5 separate regions of the Homo sapiens genome follow, and all the other regions are linked to region 1. The links are contacts of gene promoters, found by promoter capture Hi-C in human tissues and cell types (Jung and others, 2019). All regions are on one chromosome and are shown on one strand. Each heading gives the region's core, a stretch centred on a gene start or on the middle of the fragment in contact. The rest is flanking DNA. Distances are from core to core; before and after follow the strand shown. Region 1 holds the start of LRP1B (LDL receptor related protein 1B). Region 2 overlaps LRP1B (LDL receptor related protein 1B). Region 3 overlaps LRP1B (LDL receptor related protein 1B). Region 4 overlaps LRP1B (LDL receptor related protein 1B). Region 5 overlaps LRP1B (LDL receptor related protein 1B).

Region 1 (3,765 bases), core at 392-2,891:
TCTCTACTAAAAGTACAAAAAAATTAGCCGGGCATGGTCGTGGGCGCCTGTAGTCCTAGCTACTCCGGAGGCTGAGGCAGGAGAATGGCGTGAACCCGGGAGGTGGAGCTTGCAGTGGGCCGAGATCGCGCCACTGCAATCCAGCCTGGGCAACAGAGAGAGACTCCGTCTCAAAAAAAAAAAAAAAAATTAAGCATACACTTTTGAATGTAGGAGTCATATTTCAAACACAAAATGGTTGTATTTTCAAGGGAAAGTAAACTTTATAATTTAAAACATGGAAAAAGTGACATAAAATACATTTATAATCACAGAGTAAGAATAAAAAGGTGAAATCCACAGATTATTGACAATGTTCTGCAAAGTCATCTCTGTGTTCTTTCATCTAGTCCAGTTTTTAATGGCTTCAAAGGAGCATCTAAAGATATTTCTGGATAATTTTACTCTCATAAATAGGTAGATAGTAATGCTGGCATTCACTTATAAGTCTCAAACAGCAAAGTAAATAAAGCTTTTAAAGCATCTTCCTTCACTTTTCAATCGTTCTCTTCCTTAGTTCTGTTCCCTTCTCATAGTTTTCCTCTCCACTCATGTCCAGTTTCAAAATATTAAATATAAAACCTTTTCAACTCTTGTTCTTAGAAGAGAATTCCTGATGTTACAAGGAAGAAAGTAAGTCTACAACTATTAAGATTTCTGAGTTTTAATTCCGTAGCCACTTTGTAATGGCAAACTAAAATTTTAGGGACTGGGATGATCATGTTGTAAACTTAAGTGGTCATAAAAACAACTTTACTAATATTATTATTCCAGTGATTCCCGTTGATGCCTCCGATGGCTCGGGAAAGTTCTTACACCGCCCCTGTAGTATATGGAAAAGGAAAACAAAACAAAACACAAAACAAAAACAACAAAACCCTCAAAGCCTGTTTAAAATGGCTCGAAGTACCCTTTTAAAGACAGAACCCCAGAGAAAAACGCTGCCAATTCGTTGCTTTATTGTTCCCTGCCTGGGGACCTCAATAGCCTTTTCCATTAACCTTCCCTTCTTACGCAACGGTTAATGACTTTGGGGGTTGTTTTGCTTTCTGTTTCTGCTGAGTCACTAAATTTTGCCTCTTTGTCCCCAGGTGCTGCTCAGCATAAAAGTTAAAAGTGCAATTCAGGAAGTACTGGGATTCTGTGTAGAGCCGAGGAAACCATTTCCCTAAGAGAAGCTCTGTTCCTTGGCTTGTCCTTCCTTCCCGGGAAGGAAGCTTCCGAGGAACGAAGGGAGAAGCTTTGTTTTGCCTGCAGAAGCAGCCCTGTGCTCGGCTGAGGGTTCTCAGCTGGCTGTGAACTGCGGAGCATTGTAGGCGCCTGGCTGGCTCAGGCCAATGCAGAAGTCTCTCCCTTCTCCAAAGACCCAAATCCCCACAGAACCAGCTTCGAGTTACTTTCCCTTCAAGGGGATTAAAATAATTGTGATTTGTGGCGCTCTCCGTTCGCGGTGGTATTTTCCTGTTGTGTTAAATGCCTCTTATTAAGTAATAGATGTGATTTATGTGAACGACGAAGGGGTGTGTGGTGGATTCGGTGATTAATCAGTGAATTCCCATCCGCTGGCATCTCTCACTGCCCCTCTTGCGTGATGTAAGATCAGACGTACCCTGCATTGAAAAGTCAAGACACACGGGCGTCTCGCTCGCGCTCACACACGCTCTGCCTCCTCTCTCCCGCACGCGCGCATCCCTCCACCTTCCACATCCTGCTCCAGGCAGGAGAAGGCTGACTGGCTGGACTCATTGAGCTGAAGAATTTCCAGTGACATTTGTAAATGACGCCGCTCGATTCCAGGCTCCAAGCGGCCCCTGCCGCCGCCGCCGCCGCCGGGCCGAAGGTGCCGCCGAGCAGTCTCCAGCGCAGGCTTCCTTACCGGGCGACCACAATGTCCGAGTTTCTCCTCGCCTTACTCACTCTCTCGGGATTATTGCCGATTGCCAGGGTGCTGACCGTGGGAGCCGACCGAGGTAAGGAGAACACCTCCCCGCTCCCCTCCCCTGACTTCCTTGGCTTTCCTGCTGGGCGATGCTTGCAGATAAGTGAGTGTGAAACTTAAGTCCTTGCAGCTCCGCTCCCCGGGACCGGGTGACCACCGTGCGCTGGCCCTGTGCGGGGGTGAGAGGTGCGGTGCGGGATTTCTGAACCAAGTGCCTGAGTCCTCGGCACCCCCACAGCTTTTCCCTTTGGCCGTTTCCCGGTCCCCATTTTGTCCCCTCCGGGAGTGTGTGCACTTGGCTGTGCGCTTCTGTCCGCGAATTCTAAGCGCTGCAGATGTTGGAATGAGAATTCGCATTTCCGAAAGACTTCCCTCCGCGATGGCCCTCAACTGCGAGCTTTTGCGAGCTCCAGGTTCTCCGCGTTAAGCGTGTCCGCCCTCAACTTAGCTCCCAGGTTAACTTCCTTACCTGCTGCATTCGAGGTCCGTGGAGCGGCGAAAGCGCCGATTCAGGCCCCTTTCGTTTCTATAGCCCCTTCCTGGGGGCAGACTGGGGTCAGAGTCCTGTCATCAGCAGAGAGGCTTTTAGGACGATTCCGGGCGCACGCACCTGCTTGAAATTGACTTTTCGATTATGAGGGTCTGTGACACAGCCCAGGTGCTCTGAGGGGCTAACCCACCCCTGGAGTGCCTCTCTCCAGTCTGGCGCTTTGCTTTTCCTTTTTCTCCAAGCAGCTGGTGAATGGTAGAAGTTTAGAAGGGAATGGATATGGGGAGCAGAGGAGAAAGGAGGTAGGAATTAGAAAAAGCCGGGATTCTATAAACTTTTCATCTGGAAAATCAAGAATCCCTGTGCGAGTTTAATAATCTTTGACAACAGATGCACTGGTGAAAAAGGGAGGAAAATACTAGATGAATATTTGGGGCACTGGCCCTGGCCTTGGAATGGTTAACTGGTTAAAGTAAAATCAGAAGTATCATAGATTTTTTTAAAATCAGAAAATGAGCTTATATTGACTGGTATAGTTCAGCTTTTTAGTTTAAATAAGAGAGAGAGAGAGAGAGAGAGAGAGAGAGAGAGAGAGAGAGAGAGAAAGAGAGAAAGAAACCCAGATCCCAATGCCAAGCAAATAGGCAGAATGTTGCATTGGGAGATTTAGTTATTGTATTTACATGAAGCAGATTATGAATTGACAAAAAATATTGCTTCATTATAGGAAAGAACAGGGGAATGAACTGCAGTGTTTCTATTCAACCTGCTGTTGGCAGCCAGATTCTAGCCTTTGTAACATACCTACACGTGTTATTTCCTCTACCAGTGGTGGGACTAATCTGAGTTCCTTTAGGAAATCTGACACTTATTGGTGATAATCTTTTAAGCATATCATTGCCACCTAACCATAGCTTCTGAACTTGCTCAACTTGCCTTGAAGTTGGTGTGGAATGGTTGGAAACTATACTGATGAAATGGAAGCACATAGCTCGCCTTGAAATGATGATGTCTTTGATCTGGAACAATCAGCTCTCAACCTTTCTTAGGAAAAATGTTTGAAGTTGGACCAGAGCAGATGAACAGAATGGAGATTTTCAGCCCAGTATGCTAGCAAAATATAATGGTACTGGCAGACTACTGCTATTGGGCTCTTCCTGATTGAGTCTCCAATCTCCAGAAATTTGACTTCATCTAAAGCTGAGTTCTCAATGCTTTTGTATACATTTATGAGGATAGAACTACTGCTACCATGATTGGAGTAAATATCTGAAGAGAATTTTGTATAGAACATAAA
Region 2 (3,815 bases), core at 837-3,336, 1.2 Mb after region 1:
AGGATTCAGCTTTAATCTTTAAGCAGTTGTTTAACTTTTTTAGTAGTCTTCACATGTGGAAAGAAGAATTTGTAAATTGGTGATGCAGACAAGAGAAGACATATTCAAATTGTGAAGCCTGTGTTGAAAGTGGACCTTGTGTCAAGGAATTGGATGGTCAATTTAATTTCAAGGATAAGACTAACGTTGGTTCTCAACTTAAGTTGTCAATAAAATAATTACCAGGGGAACTTTAAAATCACCTGCCCATACCTCACTCCAGAGTAATTAAATAGAATCTCTAGGAGTGGGACCCAATAATTAGTATTTTTAATGCTTCCCTAATGATGAAATGTGTGATCAAATTTGAAAACTCAAGACATACATACAGTCTTTTGAGGAGCTTGTTAAAAAACAGAGTGCTGGGCCCCATTTCCAGAGTCTCTGATCCAGTCAGTCTCAGGTGGGGCCCAAGAATTTATATTTCTATTAGGTCAGTGCAAAAGTAATTACAGTTTTTACCAGTATGGAGAACAACAACAAAAAAAAACGCAATTACTGTTGCACCACCCTAATAAGAAATTCTCAATTAATGCTGATCCTTGTACCATGTGTATTTGATTTTATCATCTGTGCACTATGTAACGTAAGAATGTCTATATATGCAAAATTAATTTAAGTTGGAAGCAATTATCCTTACAAATTTCCTTCCCATATGTATTAGTCCATTTTCACGCTGCTGGTGAAGACATACCGTAGACTGGACAATTTACAAAAGAAAGAGGTTTAACTGGATTTATAGAAGCCTCACAATCATGATGGAAGGCAAGGAGGAGCAAGTCATATCTTAGGTGGGTGGTATGAGACAGAGAGATTGGGCAGGGAAACTCCCCCTAATGATACCCTCAGATCTCATGAGACTTATTCGTTATAATGAGAACAGCACGGCAAAGACCTGCCCCCATGTTTCAATTACCTCCCACTGGGTCCCTTTCACAACACGTGGGAATTCAAGATGTGACTTGGGTGGGGACGAGCCAAGCCATATCACCATCCTCAAATTACTATATTAAATATAAGGGCATTTCATGATTAAACATGATAATGTTTCAAACAATGACATGTTTTGTCCTTTAGACAATTTATAGTCAAGTATGATTGTTCTTTTTAAACTTTAACAATCTTTGGCTTGTTCTGTCTTCCAAGTATCTCATTATAGTTTATATTTATTATGTTTTAATAAATGTACCTTAATGTAAGTTGGTAGTACCTAATTCATTAGAAGCCTTCAACTTTGGAAATTACCTAAAGTTTGTTAGCAGATTGAAAGGTAGTTCAGGCTGGGTGTGGTGGCTCACACCTGTAATCCCAGTACTTTGGGAAGCTGAGGTAGGTGAACCACTTGAGGTCAGGAGTTTGAGACCAACCTGGCAAACATGGTGAAACCCCATCTCTACTAAAAACAGCAAAAAAATTAGTGGGGCGTGGTAATGCATGCCTGTAATCCCAGCTACTCAGGAGGCTGAGGCAGGAGAATAGCTTGAACCCGGGAGGTGGAGGTTGCAATGAGCCGAGATCGCGCCACTGCACTCCAGCCTGGGCAACAAGAGTGAGACTCCATCTCAAAAAAAAAAAAAAAAAAAAAGGAAAAAAAAAAAGATAGTTCAATGGAGTAGAAATAAAAATCTACTGAAGTTTGCAAAGTTAACATTACTCATTTTTATGGATATTGATCTTTTATAACCATGTAGATAGTAGGATTTTGTCTCTTGTACTTGTAGTCTTACTTGTAAATGCTCTTGTAATCTTGTTATCTTACAAAATTACAAGAAAAGAGAAAAGAGAGGACAGTAGAGGAGGGGGTAGGGAGAGGAGAGGAAAGGACAGGACAGGAGAGGAGAAGAGAGAAGAAGAGAGGAAGAGAAGAGTAGGCGGGCATGGTGGCTCATGCCTGTTATCTCAGCATTTTGGCAGGCTGATGTAGGTGGATCACTTGAGCCCAGAAGTTCCAGACCAGCCTGAGAAACATGGCCAGATCCCATCTCTACAAAAAATACAAAAAAATTAGCCAGGGGTGGTGATGGGTACCTGTAGTCCCAGTTACTTGGGAGGCTAAGGTGGTATGATCACTTGAGCCCAGGAGGTTGAGGCTGCAGTGAGCCATGATGCATTCCAGCCTGGGACAACCTGAGTGAGACCCAGCCTCAAAAAAATAATACATAAGTAAATAGAAAGAAAAATAGAGAAATAAGGAAGAGTTTCAGCTATCAAAATGGAATTTTTACCCAGTTAAATCAGTGGTAAGTTGTATCAAAGATAGTTTACACAAGATTATTAGAAAAGCAAAGTTCCTGATTAAGTATAATATTTTTTATTTTCTAAGAAAAAACCTGCATATGTGTGTAACCATATAATGAGGAGTAGTAATCCAGTGGAATATTGACATGAAATATAATTATTGTCCAGCACTGCTTTCAACTCCTTTGCCATTCCTTAATAATATCTTTGCACCACACAATGAGTCTGGTGACTTTTAGTTTCTATAACTTGTTCCAACCCATTTTGAAACACCAATATTATATCTTAGTCAAAGCTTTCTCCTCCCTCATTGCTGGCCAGACTTCAGGTTCTAAGAATGGGGGGAAACTATGTCCTGCTTATATAACTTTAGCTCTTCAGGCAGAGAGGAGACATGGAGGAAATGAGTAACATCTTTTCAAGCAGGTCTAGAGGAAACTTCCTTTCTGCTGCTGTAAATTTCACAATCCTCTGACACATGAGAAATGCAACTCTATTGAGAGGCTTCTGTGTGAGATCTTCAGAGAGGTTTGAGTCTCATCCCTCTTTAGGATTCCCTGAACTTCCTCCTTTTCATTTCTTCTCTCTTCTTTTCCCTTCTTCAGGGTTCCCTGCATATCTAGATCTAGGTTTCTTTTATTCCCCATAACTTCTCATTCTCACCACAGGATGTATATCTCATAGCCTTAAGTTGCTAGAATCCCCTTGCTTGGTGGGCTGCCCTTTTGGTTGCATTACTGACGTAACAAGAGAAGGTTTGCTGTCTTTGCTAAGTCCACTTTTTTTAATTTTTTTCCCCAAATGTTGTGAGCAGGCTGCTCTCTTAATGGCCTATCCCTTGGGCCTGCGATCACTCTCCAGTTCTTTGTTCTTCTCTAGATACAGGTAAAAGGGCCAGAACACTTGCAGAAAAAACATCTCATCAGTGCCTTCTCAGGAACCACACAATTTCATGAATGATTCTCATGGAGTCTGTCCTTCTCTTGCATTTGGGGATCTCTCCACAGGTTGGTCCACTGGTCTCTCCAGAAGGTTGACTTGTGCAGTACTCCCCTATTATATGAAATGGTTCCAAATATCGGTTTCTCTCTGTAGAACGTGGGGATACTTGGTGTCTCCTTGTCCTTAGTATTGGATCTAAGTGGGCCAGGGCCATGGCGAAAGAAAGAATCTCACTATTACATGCTTTTGTTTTTTAACTGACTCATTTTGTTTCTCTGTCTCTCTTCTTTTCCTTCTTCCTTTCTCCCTTCTAATCTCCTATTAAAGCAGGTTTGTACACACCTACTAGTACAAACATATACATGTTTATTCAATATATGAACATTTAGAAAGAATAATAAAAGTTATTTTAGTTTTCACAGTATAAATAAGGAGACGGAAGCACTGAAAATTGTGTGTGCAAAGTTGCAGAATGTGTTAGTAGATTTCAGTTGGATATCAGTCCCATTCACTCATAGTTGCTTATTCTCACAGAATTAGAGACTGTTGTAGTTGAATAAAATGCTTTGTAACTTAATCTCTTTTCCAATATAGGA
Region 3 (3,701 bases), core at 482-2,981, 1.1 Mb after region 1:
AATGATTGCAAATATGTGATTTCTTTATATATTACTTTCTGTGCTGGAGCAAGTGGTAGTCTAAACATAGATTGGGACCAAAAAGTTGGATTTTGAATTTATAAAACAAATCTTCGGAGGTGCTTTCTCATTAGTCTTTTCACAGGGAGAGCTATGTTTTTGCAGCTTCTAAATATCCATTATTATATAAACAAGTAGCCCTTAAAATATCTCAAATTATGTATAACAGTGTCACAGGCATATTATTGAATATGCTTGAAAGTCTTGCTCTCACAAGCCTTTGAAAAATAACTACTAAATATGCTCTCTTAATGTCATATGAATACAATTCTGTCCCTACATTTGGAACTGTTTTAAACACTACTGCATAATGTTTTCTTCTCCAGAAAAAAAAGTTTTAATCAGGGAAATGTTGAACTCCTTGAGAAAAAGTAAATAACATCCTTGCGGTTCTTCTGCTGTGGCCATTTTCCATACTAGTAAATAGCAATCAGCTTTTCTTTCAAATTGCAAGCTACATAATTAAAAATCATAGTTATGTTTTGCCCTCTTTATAGGTTAGACATCTTTATGGTATAACTGTGTTTGAAGATTATTTGTATGCAACCAATTCTGATAACTACAATATCGTAAGGATAAACCGATTTAATGGGACTGATATTCACTCATTAATTAAAATTGAGAATGCTTGGGGAATCCGAATTTATCAAAAAAGAACTCAACCAACAGGTAAGTGGGAAAGCTTCTTTATTACCTTCCTAATGGTAGATTGAATGGGGATATAGTCCTTGTGCTTTTGTATGGTGTTGAAGTGAGTGAGTCATAAATTCTCTGCTTTGACAGCAAAAGTAGGCATGTCTGCTTGTTAAATGGAATAGAGCTCCCGTCACAAGTCTAAATGACAGATTGTTCAGTTTCTAGTGAATCGTTTCTATGATAGAATTGAAATGATAGCTAGATTTAGATTCAGGAAGGGGCTTTCAGTCGTGATGAATGTAGACAGGAAACCCAGATGCTAAAGTTATTATTTTTTCCTTTTAAATATCATTTTGGTAGACAAATTTAAAATCAGGTGACTGCCTTGAAGTATCTGTCCAGTGTTTATTATAGTCATTGGGCTCTCCTAACTTAACATTGCAATTGTTCTTTAACACATATTCATTAAAAAGTAATTTTCAATGAGAAGGCTGCAGTTTTTCTCAGAAAAACAAACCAGTTGTTTCTACAGGAGATTAGTGATGCTGTTCATCAATACAATTTAGGTTCAATCATACATAAAAAAAGAGAATATAAAAAGCCACCAGCAAAAATTTTTACTGTATTTTATACTTGTATTTCAAATTAAAACTAGCCTAGAATTATCTAAGCATTAACATATATCTAATCACGGCTGTACATTGTCACAAATATGTTTACAACAGACTCAAATTTAAAATTCTGTAGATGGCCTTATTAGAGTTTAATATTAGGATTTATTCATTCATTAATTTTTCATGGACAATCTACTATGTTCCAGGAACTATTCTATGTATACTGTGAATAGAGCAGTGAATAAAACAGACAAAATAGTCTTGCCTTTATGAGTTTACACTCCAGTGGAGAAGCTATGATACAAAATAACTAAGTAAATTATGTATTATATTAGAAGGTAATAAGTGCTATAGAGAAAATCAAGAAAGTAAGGTGGATAAAGATGTCAGAAATGGGAGCAGTCTTCAATTTTATATGGAAGAGTCAGAAGAAGTTCCATGGAAAAGATGACATTGAATAATGACTTGAGGTATTTGAAGGAGAAAGGCATGGGGATTGTATTAATCGGTTTTCACACTGCTGATAAAGACGTACCCAAGACTGGGCAATTTACAAAAGAAAGAGGTTTAATTGGACTTACAGTTCCACATGGCTGGGGAAACCTCACAATCACAGCAGAAGGCAAGGAGGAGCAAGTCACATCTTATGTGGATAGCCACAGACAGAGAGCTTGTGCAGGAAAACCCCCCTTTTTAAAACCATCAGATCTCATGAGACTTATTTGCTATCACAAGAACAGCATGGGAAAGACCTGCCCCCATGATTCAATTACCTCCTACTGGGTCCCCCCCAACAACACGTGGGAATTCAAGATGAGATTTGGGTGGGGATACAGACAAACCATATCAGAGATATCTGGGCAACAACATTGCAGGTGGTGGGATGAACAAGCACAAAAGCCATGAGGAGAGAACATGTCTAGACTGTTCAAGGAGTGGCAAGAATACCTGTGTGTCTAAAGCAGAACGAACAAGGAAAAGAGAAGTAGGAAATAAGGCTGGAGAAACAAAGGAGGACCATAACAAGTAGGGCTCTGTAGACTATTATAAAAAACTTTTGCTTATACTTTTAGTGAGATGGGAAGTCCTTAGAAAGCATTAAACAGAAAAATCTCACGGTATGACTGACATTTTTAAAGAACCAATATGGCTACTCTGTTGATAATAGGTAGTAGGGAGGAGAAGGTTGGAAGGTTACAGAGGATGGTGGATTGGATCAAGATCCAGCAGTGAAAGTGGTAAGAAGTAGTGAAATTCAGAATATAGGCAAATATAGAGCCGATAGGATTTTCTGATACATTAGAGGTGGAGTATAAATCAGACAGTGGTCTAGCTAGAGGAGTTGGAATAATTTAGTTACTTTTTAGATGGGGAAACTAAGCATGGAGTGAGTTTAGGACAAAGATAGCAAATTTAATTTTCATGAGTTACTTTAAATGTTTATTACAAATTAAAGTGAAAATATCAAGGGTATATTTAAATATACAACTCTGGAGTTGAAGGGGGAAGTCCAAGCTTGAGATACCAATTTGGGAGTCATTGACAGACAGGTCACATTTAAAGCCATGACTATGGATGTGAACACCAAGGCAGTAATCACAAATGGAGAAATAAGCATTCCAAATAATGGACACTGGTATGCTCCAGCAATAAGCTGAAAAGAATAGGAAAAACCAAAAGAAGAGACTGAGATGAAGCTTCTTAAATCCAATTGACCATAGGATTTAGCAGCATGAAGCTCACTGGGATCTGACAAGGGCAGTTTCAGAATTAAGTGAATATATGAGTAGAATGGGTTTGAGAGAGAGAAGAAGGAAAAGAATTGTAGAAAATGATCATTGGTAGCTTTGCACAGTGTGGATGTAAGCTAGGGCAGAGAAATGGAGAGCTAGTTGAAGGAAGGATTGTTGTGGGAATTTGGGTTAAAAGATTTTTGATTAGATGTAGAAATAATGGTATATTTGCATGTTGATGGACATGATCCAATGGAAAAAGCAAAAGTGATGATAAGATTTAGAAAGTGGAGAGTTGTTGATTAGTTGAGAGGAGATGCGATCTATTGTATAAGTGGAGTCAGGTTGGAAAATAACAATAACACTCTTGGCAGGAAAAAATTAGTAAAAATTGCATTTCACTCATCTTCTGACTTGGAGAATGAAGAATACAAAGATAATAGGCATAATTTTTAAAAGCATATTAGTTTTATTATGAAGAGAACACTGCCATGATATTCATCACCATTTCAAACAAGTGGGTGATCTAAAAGAAACATAATTACAATAATATGTAAAATCTTACTTATATTATTCCTATTATTTCTTTTCACTTTGATCCATCTTTCTTTTCTCATCCTCTCCATATAGTACTTTTCTTACCTTTTTTCTTTAGTAG
Region 4 (3,550 bases), core at 790-3,289, 1.2 Mb after region 1:
TTTATTGCGCAGGCTGGAGTGCAGTGGCATGATCTAGGCTCACTGCAACCTCTGCCTCCCAGGTTCAAGTGATTCTCCTGCCTCAGCCTCCTGAGTAGCTGGGATTACAGGCACATGCCACCATGTCTGGATAATTTTGTATTTTTAGTAGAGACGGGGTTTCACCATGTTGGCCAGGCTGGTCTCAAACTCCTGACCTCAGGTGATCCACGAGCCTTGGCTTCCCAAAGTGCTGGGATTACAGGCACGAGCCACCGCACCTGTCCTTCTATTTCTTTTTAAGTCAATTTTGCTAACACATTTCTCTAAGAATTGACTTATTTTACATATTTTCAAGTGTATTATTAAAATGCATATCTTACTCATCTGTTTTTTATTTTCTATATTTTCTATTTTTACTCTTCCTGTTGTTAATTTATATATGTATGTATATTTATATGTATAAGTATATATATATAAAATCAAGTCTGCCATAGGTCATCTATCTATATTTTGTTATTCTTTTAAACAAATGGCTTTGGGTTTGCTAGTAATATCTTTTGTTGTATTTTATCAATTTCTGTAGTTATATTTGTTATTATTTTCAAATTTGAGTTAATTCATTTTTATTTTCTGAATTCTTTGAGTTGAAATATTATTCCATTAATTTTTCTAATAATAGTTTCTCTATTCAACTAACTCAAATGCACAGAAAAGAAACAGAACTAAATTGTTGGCATTCTTTGTTTTCTTTATGTAGATAGAAAATTTTTCAGATCTGAGGAGGGTTATAGGAATGACTCTAAATGAGTAAAAAATTAATGATATATGGAACCTGGACTGTTAACAGTGAGCTAAAGGTAGTATTTGTACAGTTTTATGCCCTTTACAAGTTCTTACAGTCATTACCACATTTTTTAAATAACAGATGTATTGAGATATAATTTACATACCATAAGATTCACTCTTTTAAAGTGCACAATTCAGTTTAACTATTACAACTATTTAATTTTGAGCACTTTAATCACCCCAAAACAAACCCCATGCCCATTTGCAATCACTTCCTGTTAATACCTACCCTCGGCCCTAGAAACCACTGATCTATTTTCTACCACTAAAGATTTGCCTATTCTGGACATTTCATATAAATGTAATCATGCAATATGTGTTTTATGACTAGCTTCTTTCACTTGGTGTAATGTTTTCATTTGTTTTAGCATACACAAGTAATTCTTTTCTTTGTATTGATGAATAATATATCTATCATGTGGATAGACAGCATTTTTTTATTCATCAGTTGATGAGCATATGAATTATATCCATTTTTGGTTATTATGAATAATGCTGCCATGAATATGCACCAGTTTTTGTGTGAACATGCATTTTTAATTATCTGGGGTGTTCAACTAGAACTGGAATTTTTGCTGCTCTTACATTTAAGTCTATAATACAGTTTGAGTTAGTTTTTGTCTATGGTATGAAATAAGTTTGAATATGAGTGGAGGAAAAATCATCTTTCCAAGAAATAATGCTCTGGGAGGACTAGATTTTCACATGCAATTGAATGATATCTGAACCTATCTCATACCATATGCAAAAATTAATTCAAATTGTATCAAAGACCTAACATAAGAGCTAATCCAAAATTAGGTAATTTTTCTTTTAAACAACTGTGCATCCAACACAAACATTTTCTTTATTTTAAAAATGCTAAATCCTGGATATTAAATTTTAAGAGTATTTGTTTTATTGGGAGCTATTTGGAACTATTCTGTACCTGTTTTTGATATATTGTTTCAGTTAGCTCTTGTCACAATAATGTCATACAGCAAAAACAATACTGTGCAATAAATAACTGCAATATCTAAGTGATCACAACAATATACATCAGTATGTCTCACAGTAATTAGTTTAGGGTTGATACATTTTTGAAATAACATAATTTTAGTAACTTTCAGATACTGAAACATTCTTTTAAGCACAAAAAATAATACTAAAAGAAACTTTAATCTCATATCCGTTTTCAAAGCTTCTTTCCTTTCTCCCTACCCAGGCCTGTTTCAGGCTAAAAAACACCAAGTGAGGAATGATATAGTTATGATTTTTTTGGACTCTGCAGGAAGCCGCCATCTTGTCTCTTAATGGAAGCACTCCCTAACTATAAGTCCAACAACTTCTTCACAGATCTCTTTTTCTTTGTTGTTGGATAGTTCTCCTCTATGGATCTGTTAGTATGGGATAGTTAGTTAAGAGTGTAGCAAAGTTAGTTTTAGCCAAATCTTAGCAATTTCTATGGTGACTTTTCTGAGCATTAAGTTGTCAGCTGAAATTCTAAAAAAAAAAACAGAAAATCCTCCATTTTGTCTTTGCGTGGCAATAATTCTTCTATTCTTTAATCAGTATCAGGTATATGTAAATCCAAGGAATAAAAACTCCCTAATACCTATTCTAGTGAATACACATAAACCTAAGTTTTGCAAGTTTCTGTTAAATTTTGGATTAAAAGAAATTGCTGTTTTAAGACAGAGAATTATGTAATAAATTATACTTTTAAATAATATATTTTGATCCCAAGCATTTCATTACCAGAGTTTACATTTTCATAAGCCTATTAAAAATAAATTTAATTTCAGATCCTTTTGAAGCATTCATCATCTTTTCTATTCGTCATGAGATCAGAAGGATTGATCTTCACAAAAGAGACTATAGTCTACTTGTTCCTGGATTGAGAAACACAATAGCACTTGATTTTCACTTCAATCAAAGTTTACTTTATTGGACAGATGTTGTAGAAGACAGAATATACCGGGGAAAGCTTTCTGAAAGTGGAGGTACATATATTATAATTTTTCTTAATGTTTAGATTACTTTTTTAAGTGAAAATTCAAAGAACACGTTATAACTAGAAGAAATTTTGATTATTCTTTGACCTTTGGTCCTTTATCCCCTCCCTCATATATGTAAAATCAGGGATATTGAGCATCTGTGTGAGCACCTGTTGGGGGCAGGAAGTGGTGACGCTCGTGCTGTTCACACCATTTGCCACTGTGGACTTTTCCATGGACTGATGGCAAAGAAATGCATTTACAAGAAAAAAAAAAAGACTGGTTGTTACATACCATTAGTCACATTTTTAGGAGTTACAATAACTTGTTTTTTTTTTTTTTTTAATTTTGCTACCATCTTTCAACATAATTCAAAAAAATGAAGAAAGTATTACAAAGATGACTAATATGAGCTAAATATTTTTGCCATAATTTGACTTATCTCTTTTGGCTAAGCTAACCCTTTCTTAAGTAGAAAGTCTTTGATATAAATAGCCGGGTGTGGTGGCTCACACCTATAATCCCAGCACATTGGGAGGCCGAGGCAGGCAGATCACGTGAGGTCAGGAGATCCAGACCAGCCTGGCCCATATGATGAAACCCCATCTCTACTATAAATACAAAAAATAGCTGGACGTGGTGGTGCATGCCTGTATTCCCAGCTGCTCGGGAGGCTGAGGTAGGAGAATTGCGTGAACCTGGGAGGCGGAGGTTGCAGTGAGCCTAGATCATTTCATTGTACTCCA
Region 5 (3,892 bases), core at 1,156-3,655, 1.3 Mb after region 1:
ATATATGTCGTAGCTCAAACAGGAAACAAACTTGCCTTTCCTCTACCTTTTTATTCTATTTCGGCCTTCAACAGATTGGATGATGCTTCCCTGTAATGGCAAGGGCAGGAAACTTCTAACCCAGTATACTAATTCATATACTCATCTCTTCCAGAAACACACCCAGAAATAACATTTTACCAGCTATCTAGACATTCTCTAGACTAGTCAAATTTACATATAAAGATAACCATTACAGGAAGCTACTTCAGTAGATCAGGAGGTGGCTGATGCCAAAATCTGGGAGATGCTTGTAGGTGAAATGGTCTCTGATGAGATATACTTAGAGTTGAAATCATTAAAAAGTGGTGATAGAGATTTGAGTGGGAAACCTGGGGAAAGGAGGAAGAATATGGGATGGCTTTAAGAGAGAGGGTCAGCAAATGTATTCTGTGAAAGGCCAAATAATAATAATGAATATTTGAGGACTTGTGGGCCATGTGTTCTCTGTTGCAGTTACTCTGCTGCAGTTGTAATGTGAAAGCAGTCATATGGGAAATGAATAAGTGTGGCTGTGTGCCAATAAAACTTAATTTCTGGACACTGAAATTTGAATTTCATACAAGTTTTATGTGCCATGAAATAGTATTCTTCATTTGGTTTTTTTTTCCAACCGTACAAACAAGTTGCTCACCGGCCAGTATTAGCCTTTAGGCCATCATTTGCAGACACTTCACTTAAAGGATTATCTGAAAAATTAAACTTTGAAATGTGCTGAATTTGAGATACTTCTGGGATACAGTTGAATATTTAAGGCTAAAAAGGAAGGAAGCTTTGGTCTAAAACTAGAACTTTCATAGTTATTCAATTGTAGATTGAAGGCAAAATGTAGATAAGATTTCTTAAGAGTATTACAGAAAATGAAAAAGGGCAATGATAGAGCCTTGGAAACTGCAACACTAAAAAGGAAGGCAAAGAAGAATGCTCAGAAAAAGGGCACCAACAGATTTCAGGACAAAAAGAGAAAGCGTGTGCATGCGCACACACACACACAAAAGGAACAGTTTCAAGCTAACACTAGCCAACAGTATTTGCTTTTGTAGAAAAGCCAATAAAAATAAAGACATAAATGCATTCATTGGATTTGGCAACCTGGAAAAAGGTCAGTGATAATTTTAGTGAGAGCAATTTCAGTGGGTTTGTTTGCATATGTCCTCGTGATCCTAAATAGGTCTGACATTAGCTATTAGTATAACTTTCAACTCTTTTTACTACAAAATATAATTTACTAAATAGAACTAGATTGTTCAGTCAAACAGTAAATTCCAAAAAAAATACCTTCATAGCAATCAGCTTAGTCTAGAGCCAGATTGCTTGGGTTCAAATTCCAAATTTGTCAAATCCTGACTTCTTGTGCATTAGTATTAGTTTGTTTCTCTACATTAGTATTTGTTTGTTTGCTTGTTTGTAAATCTGTAAAATGGAATTGTTATAAAGATTAAATACATCAGTCTTTCTCTTTGTTTTTTGAGATGGAATCTCACTCTGTCTCTCAGGCTGGAGTGCAGTGGCACGATCTTGGCTCACTGCAACCTCCGCCTCCCAGGTTCAAGCGATTCTCCAGCCTCTGCCTCCCAAGTAGCTTGGATTACAGTCACGTGCCACCTTGTCCAGCTAATTTTTGTAATTTTAGTAGAGATGAGGTTTCCCCATGTTGGCTAGGCTGATATTGATCTCCTGACCTCAGGTGATCTGCCCTCCTCGGCTTCCCAAAGTTCTGGGATTACAGGCGTGAGCCACTGCGCCCGGCCACATTAGTCTCTTTTAGGCAGTTAGAAGATACCTGGCAAGTACTAAGCACTTTAAAAGTGTTTGTTAAATAACTTAAATAGATAAATTAGATAAATTAGATAGATAGATAGATAGATAGATAGATAGATAGATAGATAGATAGATAGATGCACAATTCTCTTACTTCGTTTTACACATTGCCGCCAAACTCTCCTCCCCCACCCTGTAAGGGAGTTGTCTGTAACCATGGAGAAAGTGAAATCTAACTCTTCTTTTGTATGCTTCTTCTCTACCACCCATCTACCATGTCATTTTTCTCTGTGTCCTCACTCAGCCCAAAGGTGTTTTCTTCATCACCACTCCAGGTGCAGGGTTAAATTTTCTCATAAACCCAGCAAGAATCTACCACCCTGGGTTTTTCTGTTTTCTTTTGTGTTTCTTTCCTTAGCTGCTCTAATTGGAATTAAAAAAAAAAAATCTTTCAAGAATGTGATTGTTATTTTAATTACAGAGTGCTGCAAACCCTTTATCTGTTAGATTTTCACCAATTATGTTTTTCTCTTTTTGTAGAAACTTATTTTTCATGTAAACAGAACTTGGTTTAAAGGGGTCTTAAATGTTTGTTGATAAAAATAGTACTATTTTTGCAGGAACATTTTAGTTTACTTTCAAAGTCAGGCTACTGACTCAACTGCTCCTTTTAAATTTTATTTTGAAAACATAGCAACTAGTAAATATACAAACTGTTTTAGATAATAATATGACTTCCTTTTAAAAAAGAATCAAAACCCAGAAAAAGAGAGAATGAGTAAGACATTGAGAGGTTTCTCCACAGTTACAACAATAATTAGATCAAATGTAATCATACCAGTTATACTCTAACTCAGTCTCCATTTCACATCCCTGTTTTATAAGACATCCATCAATTGGCCCATGAATGAACGAGTGAATAAATCAGAATGAATTGCTTCACATAGAGAGGTTGTGTACTGTAGTAGTTAAAACCTGGACTCTGGAACCTGAATCTTTCTGTTCTCCTTTTAATACTTGTGTGATCTTGACTGAGTCTTTTTTACCTTCTCAAAGTTAAGTTTAGCCTTTGCAAAATGAAGGCAATTTTTTTTTAATTTTTATTTATTATTTATTTTTTGAGATGGAGTCTCGCTCTTTCACCCAGGCTGGAGTGCAGGGGTGCGATCTCCGCTCACTGCAAGCTCCGCCTCCCGGGTTCACACCATTCTCCTGCCTCAGCCTCCCGAGTAGCTGGGACTACAGGTGTCCGCCGCCACACTCGGCTAATTTTTTTGTATTTTTAGTAGAGATGGGGTTTCACCGTGTTAGCCAGGATGGTCTCGATCTCCTGACCTCATGATCCGCCCACCTCGGCCTCCCAAAGTGCTAGGATTACAGTCGGGAGCCACCGCACACGGCCAGGCAATTTATTTTCATAAACAAAGGTTACCATTAAGAGGAATAAATAAAATAATGCTTATAAAACACTTGGCACATTTTCTAGCATAATATAATAAAATAAATTATTTCTTTAACTTTTAAAATCATTTTTTTTAAAATCCCACTGTCCATTATAGGAAAATTGCAAGCTGTTTCTCAAAAAGTAGTTTAACATCGAAATGATTTAAGTGCCTCCAATTGCATCAGAAAAATATGTCTATAGAAAATTAAACTTTTCTTGACAACATCTATAAGAAAACAGGATAAGCTTATTTCACAATAAAAAATGTTATATTTTAAGAATATTATTGATACTCCCTCACTAATTCACTCCTTAGAGGACAAAGTATCACTTACAAAACCTGAAGGATGAGGGATTTCATATAGGACTATTAATATTTTCAATTAGAATTATGGGGAATACTTTTCACATGATTAATAAAAGGTTTTTTTTTTCTTTTTTGTCAAAAAGAAATACCCTCAAAAACATGTTGCAGCATGGTGGAGGTGAATCTCAAATACTTGCAGGTTGCTTAAATTATTTGCTTCCACAATTTACTATATTAAGATCTAGGCCAGTCCCGATGGCTGACACTGGTAAACCCAGCACTTTGGGAGGCCGAAGCAGGCAAATCACTTGAGCTCACAAGTTCAAGAGCAGCCTGGGCAA

What was found. Contacts are between HindIII fragments. The study calls those that stand out against the background at their distance.
Region 2: a fragment that was not itself captured here is called in contact with the fragment with the promoter of LRP1B in region 1 in 1 of the 25 tissues and cell types used here (dorsolateral prefrontal cortex).
Region 3: a contact is called between a fragment that was not itself captured here and the fragment with the promoter of LRP1B in region 1, in 1 of the 25 tissues and cell types used here (dorsolateral prefrontal cortex).
Region 4: a contact is called between a fragment that was not itself captured here and the fragment with the promoter of LRP1B in region 1, in 1 of the 25 tissues and cell types used here (dorsolateral prefrontal cortex).
Region 5: a contact is called between a fragment that was not itself captured here and the fragment with the promoter of LRP1B in region 1, in 1 of the 25 tissues and cell types used here (dorsolateral prefrontal cortex).

The regions. Positions count from the first base shown.
Region 1 is chr2:142,128,892-142,132,656 of GRCh38, reverse strand. It overlaps LRP1B (LDL receptor related protein 1B), which reads left to right and starts at 1,641. Exons shown (of 91, transcript NM_018557.3): 1 at 1,641-2,009. The coding sequence starts at 1,928. RefSeq lists an enhancer at 574-1,773. The HindIII fragment of the contact is 3,160 bases long and covers 1-2,721 here.
Region 2 is chr2:140,974,313-140,978,127 of GRCh38, reverse strand. All of the region lies in intron 18 of LRP1B (LDL receptor related protein 1B), which reads left to right. Among named protein-coding and RNA genes, the nearest start is that of MIR7157, 390 kb to the right of the region's middle. The HindIII fragment of the contact is 6,569 bases long and covers 1-3,815 here.
Region 3 is chr2:141,055,911-141,059,611 of GRCh38, reverse strand. It overlaps LRP1B (LDL receptor related protein 1B), which reads left to right. Exons shown (of 91, transcript NM_018557.3): 9 at 558-729. Among named protein-coding and RNA genes, the nearest start is that of MIR7157, 470 kb to the right of the region's middle. The HindIII fragment of the contact is 5,701 bases long and covers 1-3,701 here.
Region 4 is chr2:140,885,398-140,888,947 of GRCh38, reverse strand. It overlaps LRP1B (LDL receptor related protein 1B), which reads left to right. Exons shown (of 91, transcript NM_018557.3): 24 at 2,613-2,810. Among named protein-coding and RNA genes, the nearest start is that of MIR7157, 300 kb to the right of the region's middle. The HindIII fragment of the contact is 4,328 bases long and covers 1-3,550 here.
Region 5 is chr2:140,859,023-140,862,914 of GRCh38, reverse strand. The region is part of intron 27 of LRP1B (LDL receptor related protein 1B); the gene reads left to right. Among named protein-coding and RNA genes, the nearest start is that of MIR7157, 270 kb to the right of the region's middle. The HindIII fragment of the contact is 5,102 bases long and covers 1-3,892 here.